Regions from separate parts of the Homo sapiens genome. Here region 1 is linked to region 2. The links are contacts of gene promoters, found by promoter capture Hi-C in blood cells and fetal thymus (Javierre and others, 2016). All regions are on one chromosome and are shown on one strand. Each heading gives the region's core, a stretch centred on a gene start or on the middle of the fragment in contact. The rest is flanking DNA. Distances are from core to core; before and after follow the strand shown. Region 1 holds the start of PSD4 (pleckstrin and Sec7 domain containing 4). Region 2 holds the start of IL1F10 (interleukin 1 family member 10).

Region 1 (5,911 bases), core at 1,343-3,842, 110 kb after region 2:
TTCTCTGTCAGTAGACTGGAAGCTCCCTGAGAACAGGAGTTGTTCTGCAGTAGACAGGCCTATGCAAACCTACCCCAAAGTCTGAGGAAGTTGAGAAGTTGAAGAAAGAGGCTGAGAAAGCTAGGGGACTTTCCAACAGAAGCCATGTAGGTGTCTCAGGCGGCAATGAGATGAGATGGTGGATCCCCGCATTAGCACCCAAACCCAGGGCTCATATACCATAGGGTAGGAGTGGTTCAGATGGGATTTATAAGACAATTGAAGTGTGATATCATCAAGGTTGTTTGACCTACGAGTAGCACTTACGGACTTACAGTAAGTATCTGCTCTTACACAGGAAACAATAGATAAACTGGAAATTGTAGAGGCCCTGCCTTGGAACTGGGGTCACTCAGTTAAGTCAATGTGGCAGGTTAGCTTCCAAGATGGAGTTGCTTCAGCTTCCACAGGGGTCATGTGTTTTATTCCTGATAGGTCAGCGGCTTGTAGCATAGAGCCTGCACAGAGCAGGTGCTGACTTTGAGCCTTGGCCATGTTCCGGAGACACCCCTAGCGGCTGGGGCCCAGAGTGGAGGGTTTGCATTTAGGTCTTGGTGACTTCAGGTTTCTGACTTACCCAGCTTGATGGAGAGAGAGAGTTGTAAAACCTGAAATATATGAGGAAGAAGAGCTTGGAGAAGAGAAGGAACCAGGTTTGCCTTATAAACATTGAGTTTGAAGTGCTGGTGAGATAAGCATGTCCCCAACATTTGCCAGCCCTGGGAAGTGGAGAGTGGAGGACCCCATCTGATATGTCCAAATACATGAAAGTTAAGACTAAAGCTCACAAACTGTCATATAAAATGTGTCCTGCCGGGTGCGGTGGCTCACGCCTGTAATCTAGCACTATGGGAGGCCGAGGCGGGCGGATCACCTGAGGTTGGGAGTTCGAGACCAGCCTCGCCAACATGGAGAAACCCCGTCTCTACTAAAAATACAAAATTAGTCGGGCGTGGTGGCGCATGCCTGTAATCCCAGCTACTTGGGAGTCTGAGGCAGGAGAATCACTTGAACCTGGGAGGTGGAGGTTGTGGTGAGCCTAGATGGCATCACTGTACTCCAGCCTGGGCAACAAGAGCGAAACTTGGTCTCAAAAAAAAAAAAAGTGTCTATTCTCCTAATTCTCCTACCTCCCACTTTCATCATGGCCTGGAGCTCCAGGTTTGAAGGAGGATTCTTAGCCGCCTCTGAATGTTGCTGCCACAGCACAGCCCACCCCAGCCTTTGGCCCACGCCACAGCTCCACCTCCCTTTCTCTTCCCCACCCTGCTCTGTATCACACGTGCATGTGGGTGGGTGACCTGCCCAAAGGTTTGAGCTCTCTCTACCTGCTCCCGTCTCTGCTATCAGGACTCTTGCCAGCGCTTCACCCAGTCTCAGGCTGCATAGGGCAGCGGTGCTGTGTGCCCACATGGGGAGGAGGCCATTTGGGCCCCAGAAGTGGAGAGTCTCGGGATCTGGGGCACGCAGAGTGTGGTGGAGAAGCAGGGTGCACGGGCTCCATGTTGGTATGTTCCTGTGGACTCTGTACCCTGCAGGGAGGGGTGCGGCTGTAGGTGAGCTAGAGCCCGACCCTCTCAACTCTGGGTCAGGGTGGCTGGTCCCCACTGCTGTGTGGACATGCAAGTGAGGGAGTCTCTGGGTCAGCTGGAATCATGAAGACGAGAGTTCAGGGAGGGTGGGAGTGGTGGAGCCTCAGCAGAGAAGTTGACGGTCATTGATGTTGAGGAAGTAGATTGTGTGGAGGGAGGAGAATGGCATGGTGTTTGCGCTCCCCACCAGCCTCACTTACACTTGTGGACACTGCGGCCGGTGTCCTGAGGACGTGTGTTGGGAATTCAGCCACGGGGAATGGAGGTCCCTTGGTTCATATAGTCACAGGCTCTGTATTCTAACCCCAGCTTTGTAATTTTCCAGCTGTGCAACCCTGGGCAGTGGCTTAGCATCTCTGAGCTTGCCTCCAGATCCGGATCTGTATGATGGGGTTATTAATGCTTCATAAAGTAGGTGTGAGGAGGGATTGAGGTACTATTGGGAGAAACTTTGTAACTAAAAGGCAATTGTATCATTTGCATTATTACCAGTGACATGAGACATAGTCACACAAAAATTGAAATGTCATTTGTTTTAAAACCAGAAATTGCCCAACTTAGGGCCCTCCTGTCTCTCACTGGGTGCCCTGCAGGGGACCAAGAGCCAGAGCAAGACTGAGAACCTGGGGCAGAAGCGCAGGGAGGAAGGAGGTGGGGCCTGCTTACCAACCAGGCCTCGGCCCCTTCCCCTTTCAATCCCAGGCCCCTGCATGGCAGGGAGAGGCCAGTTCCACCATGGCAGGTTCTTTCTAGGCTGGTGTGCAGGGTGGGGGCCTCCAAGGAGCAGGGGCATGGGGAAAGGGGCTGCAGGCGCTGGGCCTAGGAAGAGAGGCTCTTATCTTGTGGGCAGGAAGTGTGAGGTGTTGAGCAGCTAGGGAACCCTGGGGAGGCGGCGGGGAGCAGGAGGGGTGTGTGTTGTGGTGAGGAGGAGCGGAAGTCGGAAGCTCCAGCCGTCACAGCCACATTCACTGGGCAAGCCGACTGTGAGCCAGGAAGTGCTCTTGGGGAGCCCAGGCCAAGCCATCCATTCTTGGGTCCTTTGGAGGTGAGCTAAGTGGGTCTGCCTAGGTTGGGGCTGGTGGAACCTGTGGGAGCAGGGAATGTGGAGAGTCACATGTGGGTCCTTGTGGCAGGGGCTGGGGCAGGTGGGCAGGGGAGAGGCGAGGGCTCTGGCAGTGCCGTGTGCACCTGCCATGAGCCTGGGCTAGGCTAGGCCCCTCCTTCCCCCTTCCTGCTCTGTGTCCCGTCCCCCTCCTCCCTCAGCCTACCCCTCCTCATCTGACCCTTCTCTGATTCCCTGCCCTGGCCCCACGGACCTCTGTTGTTTCCCTTCCCTGGCTCCCCGCAGAGCCTCTGGAGGTCTGCAATAGTGAAGGGTGAAGGAAGCTCCTTGCTAATCCTCTTGTGAGTGTCACTGCGTCCCCAGTGACTGCTCTGGCTGAGTACCCAGTGGGGGCTTTTGTGGCCAAAGGTCCCAAGTGATTCTCGACCCTAGACTCTGGAGAGAGGGAGTCTGGAAGGCCTGGGTTTGGGGTGGGGGTGGCTCTGGGTGTGGTTGCTGCAGGAGCTCAGAGTCAACTTGGCCATCAGGGGGCTCCCAGCTTCATCTTGCCTTCCAGGACCATCCTGGAGAAGCTCGAGGAGAGGTAAGGGGACCCTCCTTACTGGTTTAGCTCTGGCTTAGGCCTGTTGTCCTGATGGGCAACAGGAACCACTGAACTCTCAAAGTGTGCCTGTGTAGGAAACTAAGGCCCACTGTAGTCATTATTGTTATAGTGAAGGTAGCTGCATGGAGGGAAAGTCCCCTGACACTGCCATTCCCCCCTTATTCCAGGGCCTAAAATTCCACAGTTGAAGTCACTCCTCTGCTAGAATGCAGGGAAGGGTGGCCTGTCATTAGCTGATGATAAATACTCCTCCGTTCATTGGACCTTGGACCAGCTTTAAAAAGTGGTCCCCAAGCAGGCCTGTCTCCCAGCTGCCTAGGACTCTAGAGCATCCCGTGGCCCCCTCCTCCTACAGACAAGGAACCGCCTAGCATGGGGATCAGAACACAGGCTGCTGAGCTCTTTGTTGGGGAAGGGGGAGAGACCCACAGAAGGGGTGAGGGATGTGGGGTGAGAGGACCCAGGGAGGAGAGGCCCAGCCTGGCCCCAGCCCCCTAGGGGTCTTTGTCCTCCCCAGGCAGCAGCTGTACTGGGTCCCCTTTGTCATTCTGTCCCTACCCCCGTGATCTCTCCCCTGGATACTCTCTGCCTACCTCAGACCGCCATCCTCTGCTCCCTTCCTGAGCCTCTGCTGGCCTCACCACAGGCCTTCAGTAGCACTGTCTTCTCTCTCTCTCTCTCTCTCTGTGTGTGTGTGTGTGCGTGCAAATTTGCATGATGGCTCTTTCTGTGTGGGCAGGATGTGGGGCCTTCTCGAGTCATTTCTCTCACGGTGCTTCAGACCCCAGGTTCAGACAGAGGCCTCTGTCCTGCAGCTCCAGGCCAGGGAGTTCCACTCATGGTTCCTGCCTGCAGCAACATCTGTAATTCGGCAGCTTCTCGGGCTGCAGAGGGACAGGACAGGTCACCTCCTAAGTCCTTGGACCGGCCAGAAGCCTTCATACCTTTTCCATAGGAGGGAAAACATTTCCAGGGTAAAAGGAGGGAGCGTTTGCTTGCTGAGTCTGGAAGCTCAAAAAGGGAAACAGAGACAGGCACCCTCCGGATGAAGGTTCAGGGCTGACTCCTTGAGGAGGCTGAGAGCTGAGCCTGACCAGGAGGGCTATTTGTTTGTTTTTGTTAATTTTGGCTTCTCTAAATGGACAGCAAAACAACAAAATTAAACTGAGCAGGACACGGTATTTCCTGAGCACCCACCAAGGGCCAGGCCCAGCACTCAGACCCATTCCAACTTTACAACAAACCTGTGAAGTATAGCTTTATTGGGTCTTGGTTCCTTATTTTACAGAAAAGGAACCAGGTGGAGTTTTTCACCCAGAGCCACATGGCTTGTCAGCTGTAGAGTTAGGATGGGATTCTGCTCTGCATTCTTCACTATGACCCTGAAGTGGGCAAAGGAGGGTGGTCAGTGCAGGGCACCCAAGGCCATCACCTTCCTACTCAGGGCAGGCTCATACCCCAGCCTCTGTGCCCGGTCTCCCCGTTCTTCAGCCAGGGTACAAGGCTGCAATGCCAGGCTGAGGGTGAAAAACAAACTCACTGTTAGAAAGCACCGTCCGGGTGCCAGGTGTCAGCTGGGTTCCTTCCTGCCCCCTTGGGTCAAAAAGAAATTGCCTTGAAGCCGGGGGTGGGGCAGGTGGGAGGGACTCTGCCTTCTAGTCCCTCAGCCATTGCTTTCTGTGTGTTTCACCTCCCACAAGAGGGACATAAGGCTTAGCCCTTGCAGTATTCTCCATGAGAAACATACACCCCCTCCCCACCGTGGTGAAGATTCTCTGAAATGTAGTCAGCTGTGCTCAAGAAGAGTGGCTGGTTGGCAGCAGAGTGGAGCAGTGCTCTCTCTTCCCCACCTCGGCTCCCTCCCCTCTGAACCCTCCTTAAACTTTCAGAGCCACCTCAGAGCTCAGAAAAACTGAAGGGCCACTTTAATGTAGAGGTAACAGAACTCAACTGATGTGACAGGTGGCGATTCCTTTGCTGCGAATTCCTTTCCTTCTGCTTTCGTTCTGGTTGGGATAACAGACAGGAGATTTCAAGAGAGATTTTGCTAAACACCAGGGGTGGAAAAACACAAGTAAACCAAGAAAATTTTAGATGCGTAAGACCTGGGCTCTGCTGCCCAGTTTCTGGCCTGCCTCTGCCTAGAGGGTGCCATCCTACCTCAGGGATCAAAGGCTAGTTCCATCCTCCACCCTTCTGAGATCAGACCGCCCTCACCTGGGTGACCGGTAGGACTGCCTTTTTGGCCTTAGGAGGTGACTTCACCTTTTAGGTCATCCTACCTTTCCATTCAGGCAAGAGCAATTAAAAAACAGAAGGAAGACATCTTTTAAACACACAGTTACACAGTGCCCCCTGCACAAATGGAGAGCACAAACAAGACAATTGAATGGGTCCTCCTTTCTGTTCGGGTTGCTGCCTGGGAGCCAAGACCCACAGGGACATTTTGGCTGCTGACCTGGTAGGAACCTACCTCTGGGGGAGCACTGCCCTTGGAGCACTGGACTTCCTGGAGAGGGGAGGATGAGGTGATTGGTCATGGGCAGACTGGCCCCCGTGGGGAAGCCTTCATATTATAATGATGCTAATTCTCTTCTCCAAGCCTCGGTCTTC
Region 2 (6,473 bases), core at 2,206-4,705:
CCCCCAATCTATCTTGGCTCACTCGCTCTGGGGGAAGCTAGCTGCCATGCTATGAGCAGGCCTATAAAGAGACTTACGTGGTAAAAAATGAAGTCTCCTGCCCACAGCCACATTAGTGAACCTAGAAGCAGAGACTCTGTGAGATAATCGATGTTTGTTGTTTTAAGTTGCTCAGTTTTGGTCTAACTTGTTATGCAGCAATAGATAAATAATATGCAGAGAAAGAGAAACAAATGCATTTGTTTTATTATTGCAATTTTCTCCAATATTTTTTATTTTCTTTCTCACAATGAACAACTATCCTTCATTTACCCAAATATTCTATTTAAAAGCTAATAATACAGCATTTGTTGAGTCATCTGGTTCTGCAAGATTGAGATCCTCTTGTCCTATGTGCCAGGAATGAACTCCAGTGTCCCCACCCAAACCCTGGGGAATGGGAGCAGAAGCCAGAGGAGGAGCCCATATCTGAGCCCCAGGTATTCCACCTGCACTTCACCTGTTGGACCAGCTTGGTGGTTGAGAGTCCACTGAGGCACTGGCAAGGAGGTGGCCAGGACAGACAAGGCTGCCTCTATGGACCTCACAGCTCCAGCCCAGATTCAGCTGAAGTCCTCAGGCAACAGGCAGCACAGCTCCTACCCCAGGCCTCTCAGGGCTGCCAAGAACATGAGCTCCGGATGCTAGGCTGTGTTTCAGACCCTGTTCACACTCTCTTTGTCCATGGGCCCAGACACAGTCTTGTGCTGCTCCCTCTGCTTTTGGGTCCTCCATCCATCCTCTCTGCCTAGATAAATCTCTCATCTTTCAATACCCTGCTAAGATGTCACCTCCTCCAAGAAGCTTTTACTGAGTTGAGACACCCCCAGCTATCTGATCTGGCAATGTTTGTATGCACCTCCCTGCACTGTAGTACCTTAACTTGGAGTCTGTGGCCCCTGGGATGACCTTAAGGTTAGGGACATATAAGTTTGTCTCTTAGCACCTTGCATAATGCTTGGCACATAATGGAAACCCAATGAGTATATAATGTAGAAACTATTTCTCCACCCTGGAATATTCTCTCCTTCTCCTCCACCCATCTAAACAGGCCCACCTCTAAGGGAGCAGCTTAAATTCCACCTCATTCTTGAAGGTTTCTCCAGCCTGAATTTGTTGCTTCCTCATTTGTAGGATGACAGAACTCAGAAGAGCTTTAGCCATGATGAGCCGACACAAGTCAGTAGTAAAAGAAGGAATATAAAATGCCTCCTTCAGGAATGTACAGGCTGGACATCATGACTCTACAAGTGAAAAAGAGTTAGTGGCTTTAGATTTCTGCAATTTTGGTATAAATCACTGGCCTGGACCTGTATTTACAGAGATGCAATACTCACATCATGTGGGGTTTGTACAAATTGCAGACATCGAGGAACAGAGAATGTTCCAAGGGCAGGCTGTAGGGAAGAGGCTACGATGTGGGAGGTATTATCCTGAAAAAAGCAATGCACAGGGAGCCCTCTTCAAGCACTTAAAGGCTTGCCAAGTAGAAGAATGTGCTTGTTCTGTGTAATTCCAGAACACACAAGCAGAACCAATGGGTGCAAATTATGTGGAGGCTGTTTTTCCTATATGACCCCCATATTTTAACCACAAGGACCACAAACATTGATAGGGTTTCTTCAAGAGGTTGTGTGGTCCCTGACCCTGGAGATGTTAAGGCAGAGCCTAATTAACCAATTTCTCAGGGATGCCATAGCACAGATTTCTCCAATTGGAGGGAAACTATGATTCCATGTCTATGAGATGGAGTTTCACTCTGTCGCCCAGGCTGGAGTACAGTGGTGCCATCTTGGCCCACTGCAACCTCTGCCTCCCAGGTTCCAGTGATTCCCCTGCCTCAGCCTCCTAAGTAGCTGGGCCTACAGGTGCATGCCACCATGCCTGGCTAATTTTTCTATTTTTAGTAGACACGAGGTTTCACCATGTTGGCCAGGCTGGTTTGAACTCCTGACCTCAAGGGATCTGCCTGCCTTAGCCTCCCAAAGTGTTGGGATACAGGCATGAGCCACCATGCCTGGCCTAAAGTCCTTTCAATTCTAAGATTTTTTTTTTGCCCAAGGAGCTTATCTGCCACTATTGTTTCCAACATGTCCTTGGCCCACAGCTTAGAGAGTCTGGTCTTCTTAATTATCTTTTCAAGTGTTTATGACTTAGTTCCTCAGCTAGACTGTGAAACTACTTAACAACAAGGACTGTGTATTGAATGTCTGTGTCACACAGCAGTGTAAATGCTGGGTAAACACTCATTGGTTGCCTGACATAGTAACTCATGCTTTAAGCCTTCCCATAGAAGGGTGAGAGATTGGGAGAGTGGAAGAAGAATGATCACTGGCCTTAGAAAGCAGAAATCTGGTCCCATTTCTGCCCATCTTTTCTCATTTCTCATCCTGCAGGCATCTGAGTCTTAGACCCACCTATCCCACTTCCTCAAGAAGCCCTTGGTGGAACTTTGCAAATGACCAAAGAGGGAGAATTATAATAAGGTTGTTAGTTTCCAGAGAACATTACACCTAAGCTTCTCCACGCTTGTAATGGAGGGATGGATGGATGGATGGATGGATGGATGGATGAATGGATGGATGAAAGGGTGGACAGAAGGGTGGATGGATGGGCACATGGGTGGATGGATGGTTGGATGGATGATGGATGGATGGAAGAATGGACAGATGGGTAGATAGATGGACAGATGGGTGGCCGGGTGGATGGATGGATGGATGGACTGAGTCAAGTAATGTCAATTAGAGACCTGAGTGTTCTTTCCTCTGTGCTCTACTCACACTATCATATTTCCTAGCAGTCCATGGCACATGATGTCTGCTCAGTCTCAGGGTGAATCTGAGGTCAATATCTTTGCAGTTGGGTTTCCCTAGATGTTCTGTCCCATCAAGCTGGTACCAACTAATTAAACCCACTGAAAAGCAGAGACTCCCTTCTCGTCTTTCCAAACAGAGTCACACTCACAGTGCTATCAGCCCCTTCTCTTATTCTGGCTGTCTGGCCACAGCCTGGATTCCGGCATCAGAATTTGTTCTGTCCTTGGGCTTGCCAGACATACTTTCTCTTGTATTCACCACCTCTTCAAGCCTAGGATGGAGCCCCACGGGGCACCAAAGATGTCTGACCCCAGCACTGTTTATCTGGCTGCAAACCCACTAATAACATAGTCAACGACAGTCAGTACAGAGCAGGGGCCCCATACCTTATTTCTGCCAAGGCTTTATGGATGACTCTCTCCCCCTTCAACAAATGCTCCTTAATGTTCCCACCATCTTATTATTCATGCTGTACCAAAGACATTGTGAAATGCCCAGGCTCTTCTTCCTTCATGTCCTGCAGCCAATTATAGAGATTGGTGCAGGCCTGACCCACCTGTACCAGACGGTATAAACACAGCGCAATGCCCTGGAGAAATCAGTTGGAGTCTCCAGGGATCAGGGTTCCAGGAACTCAGGATCTGCAGGTCAGTGATGGACAGGCAATATTCTCTCTCTCTTTTCTTTCTTTTCTACTCTCTCCTGTCAATATCTCTGGTATGCCCTCTATCCCTTCACTCCTCCTGGCAAGCTGTCTAGGTAACAAGGTAGTCCCCTCATATGACATGATGGGACATCAAAAACATTTAGGAGCACATAAAGAGATTTGAGGAGAAGGAATAGGTTAAGCCAAATCAAGATTTCTGAACTACTTAGAACAACTGACTTTAGAAAGTAATCTCAAAAGAAACCATCTGGGCCAATGGTATTCAAACCGTGTTTGGTGGAAGCTTAAGAGATTTTTTGTTTTCGTTTTTTTTTTTTTTGTGCTCCTTGGTAGCTCCTCAGTGTCTTCTTTGTAGGCAAGAGAAATACTAGCAGGGTTCCAAAGTCTCCATTGCTTCCTGTGTCAGCAAAGCAGCTGCCCTTTATCCTTTTTACAATCATTAGAATTCTGCATAAAATTTTATTGTGAAACTTAAAACAGTTTTGAAAGATACCTTACTCAATCTTTCCATCCAATGTTGATAAGTTGAAGGCCCAGGGATAAAAGGTGGCAAAATAAATTGGTAGCAGAGCTAGGTCTAGGACTCAGCCTTTCTATTCAAAGTCTGCTCTGTGTGTTTCTATGTCCTGGCCACAAGGACCAGGGTAGTTCAATTAGGGTGGTTGGAGAGAGCTTCAAGTGAGCTGTAAGCCATGCTTCATGACTTCAAGATCTTATAAACTTTTATAAGGGAAACAAATATCTTTATGTACAACAATAAATAATACAGTAAAATTTAATAGGAGTTCAGAGTAGAGTTACAATAGTAAGGGAAAGATTCATTAAACTCTGAGTCATGGAATTATAAATAGTTTGGCCTAGAAAGAACCTTCATAACCACATAATCTAATCCCATGAATGTATAGTGCTGAAACTGAGGGTTGGAGGTTAAAAGACATAACCCTGTATGTCTAAGCTGTAACTCTACACTGGTAATTAATTTGATAGAACTAGATACTGAACCCATCTATACTGATACTATCTCCAGTGATCTTAATATCAAAAGATCTGAATGGATGACAATGAGAAGGGATGACTTTTGAGGCAGGGAGAACAATGGGACACCTGTGAGTACGTCCACTGAGAAGATAAGAAAGGAATTATGTCGCCAGGAGGTGTGGTTTAGTGTCCATGGAGAAGTGAGATGCTATCACACAAGAAAATCAGTGCCAGACGGTGACAAAACAGTCAGTCACTGTAGATTCTAGAGCTGGGCAGGGATGTGGTGAAAAAAATCTTTAGAACGTGGGTCCACATTCCTCACATAGGTTGGAATGAATGAAAGGCAGAAAAACCGGGAATACAAGTACAGTAGTAATGGCAATTAAAAACACAAAGTTATATTTTAAAGAAATAACCTGTAGGGACTTGATAAGTTAGACACTGAGTCAGGAGAAGTAGGAGATATTGTCAATGAGTCTCAGGTTTTGAATATCACTGGTGAGAGGAATATTATGACAGTGAGAGAAATGAAATTGGGAGGAATGTGTGGGCTGGGAGGAGAAGATAATTAACTTAACCTTAAATATATTTGGTTGGATATCAGCAGGATGTCCAAAGTGGGCTGTCCTGTAGGCTGCAGGAGGTAAAGTGGGATGTGCAGTCTACATTTGGGAGCCATTAGCCCAAGATAATCATTGCAGCTGTAGAAGTCAATGAATTGCAGCTTAATATGATGTGAAATAGAAGTGCTTAGGACCTTGTTAGCCTTAGGGGTGGCCCCAGAAGGAGGTGAAATCTACAGTGGGAGAAAGAGGTGTGAAGGGAGTCATTCAATGTCAAGGGTTCCAAGGAGGCAATGACTAAATATCAAAGGAATCAAAAGAATCTCTGGATCTTGCTCCACAGAAGTTAATATTGGTCTTGGACAGAACATCCCACATAGATACTGTGCAGGAGAATGATGAAGGATAGGACAGGGTGCTGTGCAAAAGAACATGGGGAAAGCCCAAGTTTAGCTGATGGCAGTGTTTGAGCCAGGACAGGTGAATTGCGGAGGTCTGAGAGCCAGATGCCATGTCCAGGGAGAAATGAGAGGAAGAAAAGAGGGATATAGACTGAAGTTCAGTGAAAAGTCATTTGAGGAAAATAGGGAGGGGAAGCTTTGGGGGTGAGGCATGTGGCACACTGGGAGGGGCTTGGCACACAGCAGAGGTTCAGCACCAAGACCCAGGCTCTCTGATGGACCAGACGCTAGCTTCCTACCCTTACTCACTTCATCACAATCTATCAGAACCCAGGCGGAGGGAGCCGAATAGGGGAGCCTTTGGGAAAGACACTGTACATTTTGGCTGTGCCAGAATGGGAGGTTTCTAGGGCCCATGGGATCCAGCTGGACTGGACCAGCATTGAATTTCTTCCAGCTCTTTGAGCTGACACTGACCCAGAGTGGGAGTCATCAGCTTGCTATCCACCTTCACCCAGGGCCCTCCACTTTGTTGCCCCACCTAGATCTGGGCACAGCTACCACACTGCCCACTGTCCTGCTGCTACAACCAAAGAAGCCCCAGTGGTTTGGCCAAGGGGAGCCCATCATCAAGTGGGCTTGCATTGAGGCCATGATGCTGTTGAGTTATCTGTACTGGGGGATTGTCTAGTCCTTTAGGACTCAAAGTGCTGGCCAGGAGGAACCAGCAGCATTGACATCACCTGGTTGCATATTTGAAATGTACAGTCTCAGGCCCCACCCCAGGCCTGAAAAACCAGAATCTGTTATTTTAACAAGAACTGCAGGTGGTTTATATATTTATTAATAAGTGTGAAGAATGGAATGAAAGTACACCAGTTCCCAAGCAGCATGGCTGATTGCTGGAATCACTCCAAGTCCTACTGAATTAGAACCTTCGGCCCAGGAAATAGTAATTATACAGAGTCCCCCAGGTGATGCAGATGGGCAGGCACATTTAGGAGCC

What was found. The method cuts DNA at HindIII sites, captures the fragments that hold promoters and counts their contacts. A CHiCAGO score of 5 or more calls a contact.
Region 1: the fragment with the promoter of PSD4 here is called in contact with the fragment with the promoter of IL1F10 in region 2 in 6 of 17 cell types (M1 macrophages, M0 macrophages, M2 macrophages and 3 more); the score reaches 9.0 in M1 macrophages.

Annotation. Positions count from the first base shown.
Region 1 is chr2:113,171,379-113,177,289 of GRCh38, forward strand. It overlaps PSD4 (pleckstrin and Sec7 domain containing 4), which reads left to right and starts at 2,593. Exons shown (of 17, transcript NM_012455.3): 1 at 2,593-2,676. LOC124907872 (a long non-coding RNA gene) reads right to left here and starts at 4,390. Exons shown (of 2, transcript XR_007087197.1): 1 at 3,892-4,390; 2 at 1-647. RefSeq lists enhancers at 935-1,435, 1,436-1,936, 2,166-2,235, 2,286-2,455, 3,076-3,165. The HindIII fragment of the contact is 16,060 bases long and covers 1-5,911 here.
Region 2 is chr2:113,064,515-113,070,987 of GRCh38, forward strand. IL1F10 (interleukin 1 family member 10) reads left to right here and starts at 3,456. Exons shown (of 5, transcript NM_173161.3): 1 at 3,456-3,502. It overlaps IL36RN (interleukin 36 receptor antagonist), which reads left to right. Exons shown (of 5, transcript NM_012275.3): 5 at 1-230. The HindIII fragment of the contact is 1,248 bases long and covers 2,556-3,803 here.